Regions from separate parts of the Homo sapiens genome. Here region 2 is linked to region 1. Evidence: promoter capture Hi-C in human tissues and cell types (Jung and others, 2019). All regions are on one chromosome and are shown on one strand. The core of a region is centred on a gene start or on the middle of the fragment in contact, and the rest is flanking DNA. Distances in the headings are between cores, read along the strand shown.

Region 1 (4,125 bases), core at 1,282-3,781:
TTCCAAGGATCTCACCCTATGGAAAGGTTCCTGAACCCAGGAACCCAGGACAGGGCTGTGTCCACAGGCTGTGGTGGGCAGCTCCAGTGGGAGAAACCTGACTTCTTCATCAGCCAGGGGATGACCCTTTCTTGTCCCAGGAGGTGGGAACTAGGCAGCAGTGGCCCACGGCTGGGTCTGGAGAGCGTTTTACTTTGTTTTTCTTTTTTAAAAAAGTTTATTTTTGTGAAGACCATAAGAACATTTTTAATTGTTTATTTTTGAGGCACTTTTTTTTTTTTTTTTTTCCTGAGACAAGAGTCTCACTCTGTAGCCCAGGCTGGAGTGCAGTGGCACAATCTCAGCTCACTGCAACCTCCGTTTCCCGAGTTTAAGCAATTCTTCTGCCTCAGCCTCCTAAGTAGCTGGGATTACAGGCACGTACCAACATGCCTGGCTCATTTTTGTATTTTCAGTGGAGAGGGGGTTATCACGATGTTGGCCAAGCTGGTCCTGACCTCAGGTGATCCACCCACCTCAGCCTCCCAAAGTGCTGGGATTACAGGCATGACCCACCGTGCCCGGCCTCAGAAAGCGTTTCTGATTTATGTTCTCAGGAAAGGAGGAGACGGCTGCTCACCACTATCCACCCCCCGCTTCCAGGCAGTCTCAGAAACCGAGGAGGAAACATCACATCTTTGGTGCTTCCCGTCCCTGGAGTGAGGGGCCTCAGGGACTTCACAGCCAGGGCTCAAGTCTGGGCACAATGACCTCTGAGCAGAAGAGGCTCTCCCTGACCCGCCAGGTTGTTTCCGGGTTAATGCCTGGGGAACTTGGCAAGGCGCCATCTCTACAAAAAATACAAAAGGTAGCCGGGCATGGTGGCGCCTGTAGTCCCAGCTACTCGGGAGGCTGAGGCTGGAGGATCGCTTGTGCCGGGGAGGTAGAGGCTGCAGTGAGCCGAGATCGCGCTACTGCACTGCAGCCTGGGCGACAAAGGGAGACCCTGTTTCAAAAAAGAAAAAACTGGTGCGTCGATGTGGTCGCCGCTTAGTCAGGCCATGTCTTCAGCTCTGGGGGACGGGAGGTCACTGGAGGTGTGGGGCTGCCCGTCCTGGCGTCCCTCTGTGTAAGCAGCACCTGCTCCCGGAGGCACAGCCCTGGTCGGGGCCCCTCTGGAGGAGGGTTCTTGCCGGGCTCTGCTCCTCGCCGGCGGGGCAGACGTGACGGGCTCCGCACCCGGTCTGGAGAGGGCTGCGCTGGGTCGGCGCTGACGTTACTGCTTTTACTTACGACTGTAACAGCGCTACTGAACGCAGAGCACGTATCACAAAGCTCACCCGTTCCGAGTGAGTAACTTCACCGAGAGAGGCAGGACCATCCCCACGACGGTAGGACCTTCTCGTCACCCCAGAAAGAACCACGTGCCCACTCAACCCCCGACCCCACGCCGGGGCCCGCGGACGCAGCCGCCTCGCTCGCCCACGCACCTGCGGCAGCCGGGCCCGGCAGGGACGAGGGCTCGGCGGCGCCCCCGGGAAGAGCGCGGTCCGGGCCCTGGGTCCCCGTCCAGGAGGCGCCGCTGCCGCAGTGAGCACGTCGGGCCGGGTCTTGAGCTCGCGCCGGCCGCGCTCCCCGCGTCCCGAGCTGTGGCGGCCGCGTCCCCGGGCGGAAGGCTCACGCTCGGTGACGCCGCGCTGTCCCAGAACCTCAGCGACTTTGCAGACTCACTGGTGACCCAACGGTGCGCCCCGCCGCCGCCGGGCGGAAGTCCCGCCCCTGCCCCGGAGAGGAAGTTCCGCCTCATCGAGCGCCGATTGGCCGCACCGCCTTAGAGAGGACGCGCCCGGGGCCACCCCGCCGCTCCCTCCGAGGGTTCTGCGGAAGCAGGCGGCACAGCCTGCGAGGGGCTTTCGTTTCCCGGACTCAGCCGCATCGCCTCGGCTCGGGCGCGCCTGCATCCTGCCGCCCGTCCGCGCGTTGAAGGGGCGGATACAAACAACGTGGACTTCCGAGCCCCTGATTGGCGAGCGTGTAGGAAAGGGGCGGGGTTAGCAGAGCCGTGATGGACATGCAAGCGACCCAATGGCGCCGGCGACGGGGCGGGCGAGGACAACGGCGTTGTGGGCCGGGGGCGGGGCGGCCGGCGGCTCTGGGATTTCTCTGGGAGGCAGCCGCAGGGAAGGGAATGATCTTGGTGAACTTATAATCGAACCAATGGTTCCGGGAAAGCAGGAGGCGAGTGGCCAATGGCGACGGCGATGAGGCAGGCGTCCGCTGTCTCCGCAACGCCGTGTGGGAAAGGCGGGGGAGGGGCGGTCATGACAGACGTGCAGACAGGCCAATGGCTGAGGGAAGGAGGGCGGCGGGCGACCTCTGGTGACTACGGGAAGGCAGGGCGGGGTGGTGAAGAGGCGGTGCGACCGGAGGTCTGGCGGCGCCGTGTGGAACGCCGTGAGGGCGGGGAAGTCGTGACGGACGGGCGGGTGGGCCAATGGGCTCGGGAGGGCGGGCGAAGGGTGGCCAATGGCGGCGGCGCGGCCGGGGGTGGGGCGGCGCGGCGGCCCTGGTGGTGCGGGAAGCGGCGGGGCGGCGGCGAGGCTGAGGTGCGCCCGGGCGCGGGCGGGGCGGGGCCGGCGCTGGGCTTCGGGCGCGCCCACTCGGCCGCCGTGGGGCGGACGCAACGGGCGCAGGTGCGGGGCGCGGGCTCTCTCACGCCGCGGCCTCACCCGGCGGTGCTTCGGCAGGCGGCCGGCGCGGGGCGCAGGCGGCGCGGCCATGGGCTCGCAGGGCAGTCCGGTGAAGAGCTACGACTACCTGCTCAAGTTCCTGCTGGTGGGCGACAGCGACGTGGGCAAGGGCGAGATCCTGGAGAGCCTGCAGGACGGCGCGGCAGAGTCCCCGTACGCCTACAGTAACGGTAAGGCCCGGCCCGCGGCGCGCGCTGCTACGCGGGGCCCGAGCCCGGCGAGCTGGGCACGGAGCTCGCCCTCGGCCCGGCCCTTCCAAGCGCCGCCGAACGTTCCCAGGAACGCCTTTGCCTGGCTTCCAGACTCGGTAGCTCGGTGGCTGCGGGGTGCCCGTGCTCCAGTCCCGAGGTGACGCCGGGGGGCAGGAGGACGGACCAGAGGGACGCGCCCAGCGGGGACGGTGCCATGGACCCGGGGTCTGGGGGACGGTGTCACGGGTCCGGGATCTCAGGGGAAGGTGTCATGGGTCCGGGATCTGGAGCCCAGGGGAAGGTGTCATGGGTCCTAGAGAAGGTGTCATGGGCCTGGGGAAGGTGTCATGGGTCTAGGATCATCTGGGGTCCGAGGGAAGGTGTCATGGGCTCGGGGGAAGGTGTCGTGGGCCGGAGGGAAGGTGTCATGGGTGCAGGATCTGGGGTCTGGGAGAAGGTGTCATAGGTCCGAGGGAAGGTGTCATGGGTCCAGGATCTGGGGTCCGGGGAAAGATGTCATGGTCCCGGTAGAAGGCGTCATGGGCCAAAAGGAAGGTGTCATGGGTCTAGGATCATCTGGGGTCCGAGGAAAGGTGTCATAGATCTGGGGGAAGGCATCATGGTCCTAAGGGAAGCTGTCATGGGTCTGGGATCATCTGGGGTCCGAGGGAAGGTGTCATAGATCTGGGGAAAGGTGTCATGGGTCTGGGATCTCAGGGGAAGGTGTCATGGGCCTAAGGGAAGGTGTCATGGTCTGGGATCTCAGGGGAAGGTGTCATGGGTCTAGGATCATCTGGGGTCTGAGGGAAGGTGTCATAGATCTGGGGGAAGGCATCATGGTCCTAAGGGAAGGTGTCATGGGTCTGGGATCATCTGGGGTCCGAGGGAAGGTGTTATAGATCTGGGGAAAGGTGTCATGGGCCCGGGGAAGGTGTCACGGACCCAGGTCTGGTGGCAGGTGCTGCTGGGCTGCTCTTGGGACCCTGTCTCGAGCGTGCACAGATGACAGGTCCTTATAGGCACGCTGTTCCCCTGAGGTATTTGCTTACTGCTGAGGGAGTCAACGCTTTGTGCTAGAAGAAAATACCTCTGTAATGAGTTACTGAACATTTGTTTTGTTTTGTTTTCTTTTCTTTTCTTTCTTTTTTTTTTTTTTGAGACGGAGTCTCACTCTGTCGCCAGGCTGGAGTGCAGTGGCACAATTT
Region 2 (4,345 bases), core at 957-3,456, 390 kb before region 1:
ATTCTATTGGATACAGATACTTTTACATCTTTTTTTTTTTTTTTTTTTGAGACAGAGTCTCGCTCTGTCGCCCAGGCTGGAGTGCAGTGGTGCAATTTCGGCTCAGTGCAAGCTCCGCCTCCCGGGTTGACACCATTCTCCTGCCTCGGCCTCCCGAGTAGCTGGGACTACAGGTGCCCACCACCATGCTCGGCTAATTTTTGTATTTTTAGTAGAGACGGGGTTTCACCTTGTTAGCCAGGATGGTCTCAATCTCCTGACCCAGTGATCTGCCCGCCTCGGCCTCCCAAAATGCTGGGATTACAGGAGGCTGAGCCTCTGCACCCAGCCTTTTTTTTTTTTTTTTTTTTTTTTGAGACGGAGTCTTGCTCTGTCTCGTAGGCTGGAGTGCAGTGGCACAATTTCAGCTCACTGCTACCTCTGCCTCCCAGGTCAAGCAATTATCCTGCCTCAGCCTCCCGAGTAGCCAGGATTACAGGCGCCCGCTGCCATGCCTGGCTAATTTTTGTATTTTTAGTAAAGACGGGGTTTCACTATGTTGGCCAGGCTGGTCTTCAACTCCTGACCTCGTGATCCACCTGCCTCGGCCTCCCGAAGTTTGGGATTACAGGCGTGAGCCACCACACCCAGCCTCACTTTTACATCTTTCATACCTATAAACTTATAAAGAAAAATTCCAACTTTGACAGAGTACATTGCTTTTCAAAATTCTCTCGGGAACACGGAAGTAAAATGTTTCAAGACCAGTGGCCGAGAATAACCTCACTGCTGCACCAGCTCCCATCACAGTCCCAGGTTCACACCATCACCTATGGGACCCTCCTGAGGTGCACAGCCCTGCCATATGCGGCCTGAGTGAGCAGCTCTTTCCTGGGGCACAAAAGGCCCTCAGCCGTGGTCACTGCAGCATTCTGCAGTCAGCGACACGTCTGTCCCTCCACTACATTTCAGGTATACAGGGGGAGGCTGGCTAATTTCCCACCATCCTATCCTGAGGTCCTAGTATGCGGTAAGGGGGGCTCCATCAGTGTGAAGGGAGACAATTCAAAGTAGTGGAAATACGTCCAACCTTCCTTCTTAGCATTCCGTACTTAAAGTTTTTAAATGTCGGCCGGGTGCGGTGGCTCACGCCTGTGGTCCCAGCACTTTGGGAGGCTGAGGCGGGCGGATCGCGAGGTCAGGAGATCGAGACCATCCTGGCAAACACGATGAAGCCCCGTCTCTACTAAAAATACAACAACAACAACAAAAATTAGCCGGGCGTGGTGGCAGGCACCTGTAGTCCCAGCTACTGTGGAGGCTGAGGCAGGAAAATGGTGTGAACCTGGGAGGCGGAGCTTGCAGTAAGCCGAGATTGGGCCACTGCACTCCAGCCTGGGCGACAGAGCGAGACTCCATCTCAAAAAAAAAAAAAAAAAAAAAAAAAAAAGTTTTTAAATGTCTTAGAGTCTTGAAGAAGGAACAGAGGTTTTCTCTGGGCTGGGATGGTACAATGCTACCAGAAAAACCCCATCTTCACCCCGCCCTTCTGAGGTGGCTCATAGGCAAGGAGCCAGGATGTGTGACACTCTGTCTTGACCAACCAGAGATTCTTTCTCATCTCCTAACAGAAGTTATTTCAGAGATACACAACGAGCTGTATGTATTCTGGGAACAGGCTCTGCCATTTTCTTCCCTTAACGACAGGGTCCAAAATAAATCTCCAAGGCTCCTTTGGACTCTGAGCTATCATGTCTCTTGTGTGAATCCAAGTGATGAAATCTGCGTATTTCACTATAAAACTCAAGTTCTTAGAGATCAGAACATAATGTTTTTTGTTTTTTTTTTGAGATGGAGTCTTACTCTATAGCCCAGGCTGGAATGCAATGGCATGATCTCGGCTCACTGCAACCTCTGCCTCCTGGGTTTAAGCAATTCTTCTGCCCCAGCCTCCCGAGTACCTAAGATTACAGGCTCACACCAACACACCTGGCTAATTTTTCGGTAGAGACGGGGTTTCACCATGTTGGTCAGGCTGGTCTCGAACTCCTGACCTCAGGTGATTCGCCCACCTCGGCCTCCCAAAGTGCTGGGATTATAGGCATCAGCCACCACGCCCGGCCAAAACATAAGGTTTTTAAAAATTAAAGAAATGTGAAAACACCCCAAGACTCCTCAGCTTTCTCCAGAAACAGATGAACATACCCTCAACTGATCAAGCTTCTCTCGGATCTGAATGAACCCCAAGTGTAACTTGCCACCGAAGTGGTCTGCCAGGCGACGGTCATTGTCATGGAGACCAAGGTAGGCTGAACAGACCTCGCAGACACGCAGCTTTTGCTGCTGAAAACTGGATGCAGGCATGGAATTTCTGTATTCTTCCTGAAGAAGGAAAATGGAGAAATAAAAGTGAGGTATATAGAACTGCCACCACAAATTCAATCTCCAAAATGAAAATATTTGATAAGATGACAGAGGTGACTTTTAAACAAATATTAAAAAAACACAAACAAAACTTCAGATATTTATAACCAACTCAATTTTCACTGTTTATTTAAGAAACGCGGCCAGGCACGGTCCCAGCACTTTGTGAGGCCAGGTGGGCGGACCATGTGGTCAAGAGATCAAGACCAGGCCAGGCGCGGTGGCTCACGCCTGTAATCCCAGCACTTTGGGAGGCTGAGGCTGGCGGATCACCTGAGGTCCGGAGTTCAAGATCAGCCTGACCAACATGGAGAAACCCCATCTCTATTAAAAATACAAAAGTAGCCGGGTGTGGTGGCGCATGCCTGTAATCCCAGCTATTCTGGAGGCTGAGGCAGGAGAATGGCTTGAACTCGGGAGGCGGAGGTTGCTGTTGAGCTGAGATCGCACAGGCAACAAGAGCAAAACCCTGTCTCAAAAAAAAAAAAAAAAAAAAAAAGAGAGATCGAGACCATCCTGGCCAACTTTGTGAAACCCCGTCTCTACTAAAAATACAAAAATCAGCTGGGTGTGGTGGCACATGCCTGTAGTCCCAGCTACTCAGGAGGCTGAGGCAGGAGAATCACTTGAACCTGGGAAGCGGAGGTTGCAGTGAGCCAAAACCGTGCCACTGCATTCCAGCCTGGCAACAGAGCGAGACTCCATCTTAAAAAAAAAAGGTACTAACAGGCTGGGCTCAGTGGCTCACGCCTGTAATCCCAGCATTCCGAGGCCAAGGCAGACAGATCACTTGAGGCCAGGAGTTCAAGACGAGCCTGGCAACATAGCAAAACCCTGTCTCTACTAAAAATACAAAAATTGGCCGGGCGCGGTGGCTCACGCCTGTAATCCCAGCACTTTGGGAGGCTGAGGCAGGCGAATCATGGGGTCAGGAGATCACGACCATCCTGGCTAACACGGTGAAACCCCGTCTCTACTAAAAAAACAGAAAAAATTAGCTGGGCGTGGTGGCGGGCGCCTGTAGTCCCAGCTACTCAGGAGGCTGAGGCAGGAGAATGGCGTGAACCCGGCAGGCGGAGCTTGTAGTGAGCCAAGATCATGCCACTGGGCGAAAGAGCGAGACTCCGTCTCAAAAGAAAAAAAAAAAAAAAAAGCCAGATGGTGGCAGGCATCTGTAATTCCAGCTACTGGAGAGGCTGAGGCACAAATTGTTTAAGCCCAGGAGGTGGAGGTTGCAGTGAGCTGAGATCACACCACTGCATTCCAACCTGGAGGACAGAGGAAAACTCCAAAAAGGAAAAAAAAAAAATTGTATTCCAGGCCTGGTGTAGTGACTCACACCTATAATCTCAGCACTTTAGGAGAGTGAAGCAAGAAGATCACTTGGCCCCAGGAGATTGAGATCACCCTGAGCAACACAGCAAGACTCAGTCTCTAAAAATAAGAAAATAATTAGCCCGCTGTGGTGGCACGTGCCTATAGTCCCACCTACTCAAGAGACTGATTCGAGAGGACTGCTTGAGCCCAGGAGGTTGAAGGGGCAGTGACCTGTGACTGCGCCACTGTACTTCAGCCTGGGTGACCCTGGCTGACAGCAGGACCCTCTAATATTAAAAAAAATAGGCTGGGCACAGTGGCTAACACCTGCAATCCCAGCACTTTGGGAGGCCAAGGCAGGTGGATCACAAGGTCAGGAGTCCGAGAAGGTGAAACCCCGTCTCTATTAAAAATACAAAAAAATTAGCTGGGCACGGTGGCTGGCACCTGTAATCCCAGCTACTCGGGAGGCTGAGTCTGAGAATTACTTGAACCCGGGAGTCAGAGGATGCAGTGAGCCGAGATCGCACCACAGCAATCCAGCCTGGGCGACAGAGCGAGACTCTGTCTGAGAAAAAAAAAAAAAAAAAAGTAGACAAGGAACTAGCAAGAACTTGAATTTCCA

What was found. Contacts are between HindIII fragments. The study calls those that stand out against the background at their distance.
Region 2: a contact is called between a fragment that was not itself captured here and the fragment with the promoter of RAB40C in region 1, in 1 of the 25 tissues and cell types used here (lymphoblastoid cells).

What each region holds. Positions count from the first base shown.
Region 1 is chr16:587,535-591,659 of GRCh38, forward strand. It overlaps RAB40C (RAB40C, member RAS oncogene family), which reads left to right and starts at 2,532. Exons shown (of 6, transcript NM_021168.5): 1 at 2,532-2,899. The coding sequence starts at 2,758. RefSeq lists enhancers at 853-1,052, 1,175-2,048 and silencers at 1,393-1,702, 2,023-2,082, 2,093-2,142, 2,213-2,332, 2,423-2,742. The HindIII fragment of the contact is 16,228 bases long and covers 1-4,125 here.
Region 2 is chr16:196,878-201,222 of GRCh38, forward strand. LUC7L (LUC7 like) reads right to left here. Exons shown (of 10, transcript NM_201412.3): 6 at 2,185-2,361. Among named protein-coding and RNA genes, the nearest start is that of HBQ1, 19 kb to the left of the region's middle. The HindIII fragment of the contact is 3,095 bases long and covers 660-3,754 here.